Regions from separate parts of the Homo sapiens genome. Here regions 2 and 3 are each linked to region 1. Evidence: promoter capture Hi-C in 16 types of primary human blood cells and fetal thymus (Javierre and others, 2016). All regions are on one chromosome and are shown on one strand. The core of a region is centred on a gene start or on the middle of the fragment in contact, and the rest is flanking DNA. Distances in the headings are between cores, read along the strand shown.

Evidence for each region. Contacts are between HindIII fragments. The CHiCAGO score rates a contact against its expected background, and 5 or more counts as called.
Region 2: a fragment that was not itself captured here is called in contact with the fragment with the promoter of CXCL14 in region 1 in 3 of 17 cell types (M2 macrophages, M1 macrophages and megakaryocytes); the score reaches 6.3 in M2 macrophages.
Region 3: a fragment that was not itself captured here is called in contact with the fragment with the promoter of CXCL14 in region 1 in 1 of 17 cell types (erythroblasts); the score reaches 5.4 in erythroblasts.

The regions. Positions count from the first base shown.
Region 1 is chr5:135,577,560-135,580,342 of GRCh38, reverse strand. It overlaps CXCL14 (C-X-C motif chemokine ligand 14), which reads left to right and starts at 1,352. Exons shown (of 4, transcript NM_004887.5): 1 at 1,352-1,628; 2 at 1,804-1,909. The coding sequence starts at 1,565. It also overlaps a transcript of SLC25A48 not described here. The HindIII fragment of the contact is 10,061 bases long and covers 1-2,783 here.
Region 2 is chr5:135,743,472-135,746,294 of GRCh38, reverse strand. It overlaps a transcript of SLC25A48 not described here. Among named protein-coding and RNA genes, the nearest start is that of MIR5692C1, 58 kb to the left of the region's middle. The HindIII fragment of the contact is 1,938 bases long and covers 391-2,328 here.
Region 3 is chr5:135,814,598-135,817,404 of GRCh38, reverse strand. It overlaps a transcript of SLC25A48 not described here. Among named protein-coding and RNA genes, the nearest start is that of MIR5692C1, 13 kb to the right of the region's middle. The HindIII fragment of the contact is 6,572 bases long and covers 1-2,807 here.

The sequences.
Region 1 (2,783 bases), core at 103-2,602:
GAGATGATCCACCTCCTGTCTCTGGGTCTCTCAAGGCAGCAAGAAGTGAAGGGCAGACAGGCCTCAAAGCAACAGAGTGGTCCAGGGACAGGAGTCCCAGTTCTGCAGCCGTATATACTGAGGACCCTCCTGGCCTAGTCACCTGCTTCCTAGCTCTGTGACCTTGGACAAGTTATTTCTTCTCTCAGAGCATGTTTCCACACCTGTCAAATAAAGAAATTAAAAGTACCAACTTGGAAGAAAAGTACCAATTGGTAAGAATCAAAGTAATAGATAAATTAGACATAAAACGATGGTGCCAATAAGTAACATTTCCTGGGTACTGACAACATGTATGATTTCTATAGTTCTCACAGCCACCCTATCAGAAACACTGTGATGATCTGCACTTTACAGATGATGAAACAAAAGCTGAGAGCGGTAAAGTCACTTGTGCTGGAAAGTAGTGAGGAGGGAATTTCTGCCACTATGGCTGGGCTCACACCACTATACCTCGCATTCTGGCACAATGTCTAGAACATGGGAAGGCCTTCATCCAGATGGTTACCACTGTCATCGCTCTCCACTAGGGCTCTCTACCTGGCTTTGGAGAGTAGTGTGAGAGTGAGGACTCCTCCTGGTTCTCCCCACCACCCAGACACTCACACAGCCACCAGGCCACTGACCCACTTTAAGGAGCTTTCCTTTGGGAGTCACCAAAACTCCTCCCCAATACCCGTCCCCACCCCCGCATACACACACATACCCTCTTTGAGTCAGTTCCAGTGATCACAGTCAATGACTTTGCTGCTGGACAGTCTATGACAAGCCCCTGTCCAGAACTGGCCTTGTGTTCTGGCCCAGCAGGGGCCCTTGGGGGTCAGGCCTGCAGGCACTCACACTTGGCACCTGCTCCAAAACCCTTTCAGGTCTTTGAGGATCTGAGCCCTGGGCCTGGGTCTCCCGCCGGCTCGGAAAAGCTGGCCTGCCGGGCCAGAGAGAGAACCACACGATTCAGAAAAGCAGTGCCCTTCAGCAGCCTCTCCACCGTCTGGGCTCCCCAAAGGCAGAGCGGGACGCTGGAAATGTGTGCGCGCTGTGGTATGGGTGTGCAAGTGTGCGAAGGCGGCGTGTTGTGTGAGCGAGAGGGTAGCGGATGTGTGTGTGCGTGTGCGCGCGTGGCTCCGGGTGTGCGCCGCTGCGATAGCGGGTCCTTTCCCGGGGCGGGCGACGGGCGGGCTGGGAAGGTCTCCTCCCCTCACCACATTGAGAAATCTCAGTGAGTCACCGAGTGGTTCTGCATATTAATGAGCTCGCTCGCTGCGAGGGCAGGAGCGGATTTAAAAGAGGCCAGGGCGGGCGGAGGGAGGCTGTGGAGAGAGCGCGGAGACAAGCGCAGAGCGCAGCGCACGGCCACAGACAGCCCTGGGCATCCACCGACGGCGCAGCCGGAGCCAGCAGAGCCGGAAGGCGCGCCCCGGGCAGAGAAAGCCGAGCAGAGCTGGGTGGCGTCTCCGGGCCGCCGCTCCGACGGGCCAGCGCCCTCCCCATGTCCCTGCTCCCACGCCGCGCCCCTCCGGTCAGCATGAGGCTCCTGGCGGCCGCGCTGCTCCTGCTGCTGCTGGCGCTGTACACCGCGCGTGTGGACGGTGAGTGCGGGGAGCTCCCCTTGTCGCCGTCTCGTCTTGTCCTGTCCTGGGGAACCCAAGCGCCAATTTCTAGGCATCCTGGGATCCCGCGGGGGGTGGTCTGGGTGGGCACCAAGGTGGTCGAGGGGCAGGAGACCGCCTAGCAACTAAGCCGTTGCCCCGCGCTCGCTCGCAGGGTCCAAATGCAAGTGCTCCCGGAAGGGACCCAAGATCCGCTACAGCGACGTGAAGAAGCTGGAAATGAAGCCAAAGTACCCGCACTGCGAGGAGAAGATGGTTATGTGAGTTCTCGCTCCTCACCTTGAGGGGGTGCGCACTGCTGTCAACCCAATGCCAGGGCACAGCCTGGGCCTGGGTCGGGCTAACAAACATTTCTCTCCGACTTTGTCAAGGCCCTGGAAAAGCCTTTGTAATTGCCCAGAGAGTCCTTAGGACGCTGGCGAGACACTCTGGAAGACAGTCGGGAAGGGGGGTCACTGTCCCGCTCCGGAACAGCGCCTCCAAGTTCACCCTTGCTAGGATTCAAATGAGCAGTCTCCCTATTTGTACCATGGGCCACCCACTCTGCTAGGGCCATCAAGGGTTAAAGGGTTCCCTTGTGCCAACTCAGAAAACCTAGACTGAAATCACTTAAAACACACTCACACCCAAACTGTGAGGCGTGCTGCCTTCCTGTCACTGGATAGAGGACTAATGCAAACACTATCTTAAATCCTGAGTCTCCTTCAGAGCCTTGTTCCAGTCAGAGACAAGTGGACCGCAAGTTTTTGGCTCCTAGAGATTTTATTTTGAGAACGCTCCACGAGCTTCCCTCACCGACTGTACTCCTTGTGGGTCCCCAATACGGAGCAGTACTGCAGAAAGTGCTCTGCTGGGGTTAATGTGCCACATGGCTGGAGCCCTGCTTGGTGGGGATGTGGGGAATGTTGGAAAAACTGGGGCAGAGTGAGAGAACACTTAGTTTCTTGCTCCTCCGCCTTCCCAATTAACCACTTGAGGCCAGCACCGCTGCCTCCTCATCAATATGCTCTTGGCCAGGAAGGGAGCCCTTGGCAAAGCGGCTACCAAATATTTGCCACAGACCATTGGCCCCTCTTCCCCTCCCCCAGAAACAGGACGCACTTTATTCTCAGTCTGGGCAAGTGCCCTCCACCA
Region 2 (2,823 bases), core at 110-2,609, 170 kb before region 1:
CGGCTGTGCACTTCTGGAGTGGGGGCTACCCCAGACCCGGGTAAGAAAAAGGCAAGGCCTCAACAGGAAGTGAGAGGCGCAGGCCTGGAAAAGGCTGCACATGGGAGGGAGGGAGCGGGATCTGCAGAATGAGTGATGGGTACGGGCTAGAAGGTATTGTATACGGAGAGGAGTGGGGCCTAGAGGGCGCTGAGCATGAAAAGTAGGCAGCGTGAGGGCGGAGCTTGAAATGAGTGACAGGGAGGAGGACTGTAGAAGGCGAGAGCAAAGGATGTGGCACGGATGGAGGCCAAGACTAACCTGTGCAGCATCAGAAGGGACATTAATTAAGAGGATCCGGGACAGAAGTTTGAGTGACAATAACTGACCACAGAGAAAATGGGATAAGCTTCAAAGTCAGGGAGTCCTCAGACTTAAATCCTGGCTCTGCCAGCTATTTTCTTGACATAATTTTCTTCCTTTTGAGGAGTGATTCTTCCGTTCATTCAACAGAAGTGTGTTGACCGCCTCGTAGGTACTGTGCTGTGCTGGGGACACAGCTGGGGATCAGGCATGGTCACTGCCCTAGTGGAGTTTAGCTTAACAGGGGAAATATAAACACGTGAGCTAGCAACTAAACCACCACAGCTTTAAGTGCTGTGAAGCACAGATTCAAGGATGGGAGGACCTTAGGAGCCTGCTCAGAAGGACCTTAAAAAGCAGGAGGCAGGGGGAGAATCTTTTTTTTTCTTCCCACCACCCCCGCTGGCCTTTTTTCCAGAGGGAATCTTGCTGTGTTGCTGGGAACAGGCCCCCCACATCTGGCCATAAACAGGCCATGAGAAACTGGCCATAAACAAAATCTCTGCAGCACTGTGACATGCTTGTGATGGCTATGACACCCACGCTGGAGGTTGTTGGTTTACCAGAATGAGGGCAAGGAACACGTGGCCCACCCTGGGTGGAAAACCGCTCAAGGTGTTCCTAAACCACAAACAATAGCATGAGCGATCTGTGCCTTAAGGACATGTTCCTGCTGCAGATAACAAGCCAGAGCCTGTCCCTTTGTTTCCCATAAGGAATGCTTTCAGCTAATCTATGATCTATAGAAATAATGCTTATCACTGGCTTGCTGTCAATAAGTATGTGGGTCAAACTCTGTTCGGGGCTCTCAGGTCTGAAGGCTGTCAGCCCCCTGATTCCCACTCTGCACTCTATTTCTGTGTCTTTGTCTTAATTCCTCTAGCACTGCTGGGTTAGGGTCTCCACAACCGAGCTGGTCTCGGCACTGTGTAGCCCAGGCTGGAGTGCAGTGGTATGATCTCAGCTCACTGCAACCTCCGCCTCCTGGTTTCAAGTGATTCTCATGCCTCAGCTTCCCCAGTAGCAGGGACTACAGATGCCCGCCACCTCTCCTGGCTAATTTTTGTAGTTTTAGTAGAGACAGGGTTTCATTATGCTGGCCAGGCTGGTCTTGAACTCCAGACCTCAGGTGATCTGCCTGCCTCAGCCTCCCAAAGCTGGGATTACAGGTGTTAGCCACCACACCCAGCCAAGGGGGAGAATCTTGAAGGAGTTCAAAGAGAGAGTTGGGTTTGATTCTTGGGTCCATGTGGTGTGACCATCAGCAATAGTCATAACCTCTCTGAGCTTCTGGTTCCTCATCAAAAATGGAGACAGGCCAAGTGCGGTGGCTCACGCCTGTAATCCCAGCACTTTAGGAGGCCGAGGCAGGTGGATCACTTGAGGTCAGGAGTTCAAGACCAGCCTGGCCAACATGGTGAAACCTGTCTCTACTAAAAACACAAAAATTAGCTGGCATGGTGATGCGTGCCTACTCTTGAGGCTGAGGTGGGAGGATCACTTGAACTGGGGAGGTGGAGGTTGCAGTGAGCTGAGATCATGCCACTGCCCCCCAGCCTGGGTGACAGAGTGAGACCCTGTCTCAAAAGAAAAAAAAAATGGAGAGAAAAATAGTTACCTTGTCAATCCAATGGAGAGACTGAACCATCTCTACCAGTGGAGGTTTATTGAGCCAGAGCTTGAGGGCATGCTCTGGAAAACACAGAAATGTCTGTGGCCTGTGCTCCCTGGAGAGGTTCCAGGAGGCTCGTGTTTATATATTTCTTTAAAAGGGGAAAAAGCATGCAGGAAAAAGTGCAGTAGGCCTTGAGGCAGTTAGTTAAATTCCTGTGAGGTTTAAATTAGAGCCCAGTATATCTATGCTATACAGAAGATAAGGTAAACATTCAAAAGAGGGAGTAAAAGAAGAATTAATTAGATGTCTCAGGGTAGGAGAGGAAGGATTAATCTTATCCTGTCTTTGTTTGGCATGTGAGAAGATAAGCTTGTAATGGATGGACATCATCAATGTGACATTTAACAGACATCAGTAGCAGACAAGGAGTTAGACTGAGGTTACAGTCCTAAAGTTACAGTTAACATGTCCTTGTTTATGGGAGGATATTCATCTTCAAAGGTTTAGGGGCCATCAAAGAAGCTCCTTAGGAGCAATTTGTGAGGGCAGTCATCCCACGATGGAGATGCATGAGGCCTTTGGCCTTTTGCAGGGGTCTAGTTAATGTAGAATGCTTTGATCCAAGGTTGGGAAGTAACAGCTGTCTGTTGATGGGGAGGAGGACAGCAGTGTTGGGAGGTTTCCAGGCTTAACTTTCACTTGAATTTGAGCAGTAATGAGACATTTTATTTTCCATTATACCTCGTGTGTTAAGGATTTGAAATGAGATAGTTTCATTGACAGATACTTAGTACGTGCCTGCTATCTATCAGGGTTTCTCACCCTCCACATTGTTGACATTTGGAGCAGGATTATTCTTTGTTGTG
Region 3 (2,807 bases), core at 256-2,755, 240 kb before region 1:
ATCAGTAATATACATGTGGATTCATACCTGGATTGTCTATTCTGTTCCATTGATCTCTACTCACTGCCTTATTGTGGATCACAGTTTCTCAGCCTTGGCACTATTGATACTTTAAGCCAGATAATTCTTTGTTTCGGGCCATTGTCCTGTGCACTGTTGGATGTTTAGCAGCATCTCTGGCCTCTACCTACTAGATGCCAATATCATACTGCTCTCCTCCCTCCAGAGTAATGACAATAAAGAATGTCTCCCAACTTTGCCAGATGTTCCCTGGGGGGGAAATTGGCCCCATTGAGCACTGCTGCTATAAATTTGCTATATTCCTTGATAGCTAGGATAGTCTGCCAACTTTGCTCTTTCTAAAATACATTTTTATATTTTTACAATATAAACAAAAATATATTCTAGGTCCTCTGCAGTTTCATATATGTTAAATTTATCTCTAAATATTTTGGGGTTTTTATGTCTCTCTTTTTTAGCTGGTTTTATTGAGATCTAATTGTGTACAGTGAAATTGTCAAATACAATGTTACATTCTAAAGAATGCCTTCAGGTTGAAAGCTGAGGTAATTTTAGGGCTCACCTCATTTGTTCTCTTTCTCTTTGGATCATTGTCCTGTGTTTTCTGTTTTCCATCATCTTTAAATAGTGGTTTCTTATTTTATTCAGTTTTCTTGTTGTTTATAGTGGGAGGGCAAATCTAGTACCAGTTACCTCACCATGACTATAAGCAGAAGTCCCTAATAACCAACTTTTAACAGTCTCATTTATTTGAGTGGTTACTCTGTGCCAGAAACTACACTAGTCATTCTTCATTGATTATTTTATTTCTTATGAATAATCTTATCAGGTAGTTACCAATGATCATCCCTATGTAAAGATAAGAAAATGAGGTTTAGAGAGGGTAAGAATTTATTGAGTAATAGACAGTAGCAAATGGCAGGGCTGGAATTCAAATTTTGGTAGTTGGATTCTGAAGCGAAGTGTTTAATCACTTTGCCAGTTGTACAAAAGCACTATATGAAAAACGATTTTAGATGACACACAGGTTAACTGTTTTTATTTTAGTAGCAAATTAATGTAATATATTTTATGTAATATATGTTAGAAAAAATATAGTTACCACATCTGATATGGTTTGGTTCTGTGTCCCCACCCAAATCTAATCTCCAATTGTAATCCCCACATGTTGAGGGAGGAACCTGGTGGGAGGTAATTGGATGATGGGGATGGTTTCCCCCGTGCTGTTCTTGTGATAGTGAGGGAGTTCTTACGAGATCTGATGGTTTTAAAAATAGCAGCTTTCCCTGCACGCTCTCTCTCTCCTGCCACCATGCGAAGAAGGCACCTAATTCCCTTCACCTTCCGCCATGACTGTAAGTTTCCTGAGGCCTCCCCAGCCATATGGAACTGTGAGTCAATTAAACCTCTTTTGTTTATAAATTACCCAGTCTCAGGTAGTATCTTCACAGCAGTGTGAAAATAGACTAATACAACATCTAAGCCATGATTTTTCAGATACTTTTGCTTGGGACAAGAGTGAGTAGATTTTTTTAAAATAAAAATATGAGTCTGTTTAAATATCTGTATTACAGGTCATAATCAGATATGGCAAGAACATGCAGGTGACAGAGAATATCTGCACTCTGGGAAGGTGCACTGACTACACGTATCCCTTCTGGCTTGGTGAATGTGGCTCCAGGCCTGCCCCTGTGTCCATGTGCATCTGTAGACATGGATGGATAGAACTAATTTTACATAAAGGAAACTCTCACTGCAACTTGCTTTCTTCATTCCACAATATGTGCTAGCCTTTGCCCTTACCCATACATAGAGAGAGTTCAAAGGCAGCCCCTCAGGCCTTTCTGTGTGGTTGATGCTCTTCCTTACCTGCAAGCAGCTTTTGGTGCCTTTATAGCAGGGGTCCCCAACCCCTAGGCCATGGACTGGTACTGATTTGTGGCCTTTTAGGAACCAGGCCACACAGCAGGAGGTGAGCAGCTGGCAAGAGAACATTACCACCTGAGCTCCACCTCCCGTCAGATCAGTGGGGGGCATGAAATTCTCATAGGAGCACAAACCCTGTTGTGAACTGTGCATGTGAGGGATCTAGGTTTCATGCTCCTTATGAGACTCTAACTAATGCCTGATGATTTGAAGTGGAACTGTTTCATCCCACAACCATGCCTTCCCCCTCTCTGTGGAAAAGTGGTCTTCCACCAAACTGGTTCCTGGTGCCAAAAAGGTTGGGGACCGCTGCTTTAGAGTACATCCACCTCACAGATGCTGTGAAAGTCAGGGTTCCAGGATCTCCATAGCAGGCCCTCAGTTATCCCAGCCAGCACAGAGCCCAAGAGGAAATGCACATAATTCACTGTGTAAGATGAAACTTAATCAAACTGGGAGGTAACAAAAGGCCCACAGCTCCAGCATCTGGTCTAGCAGAACCCACAGTACTCTGTGGGCCCATCACAGTAAGGCCCTGCCAGTTCACGAGGCAGTGGCCTCCCATGGCCCCATGGCCTCACTGAATCCTCACTAGGCCTTCATGCCCAGAGACCAGCCTGGATGATCCAGCTGAGACAAACGATGACTTGTCCAGGGCTGTAGAATGATGGAGGTGGGAATCAGCACCAGGAACTGTGCCAAGGAAACAGTTTAAGCATACTCTCACATGTAACTGTCATCACACCAGGGCTGGGGATTCAGAGCACCATCCTGGAGATGCGGCACTTGAGGTCAGTGTGTCTGGGTGCCTGGTCCCAGGTCCCTCTGACTCCGGAGCCTGTGCTTCTAGCCCCTACTCT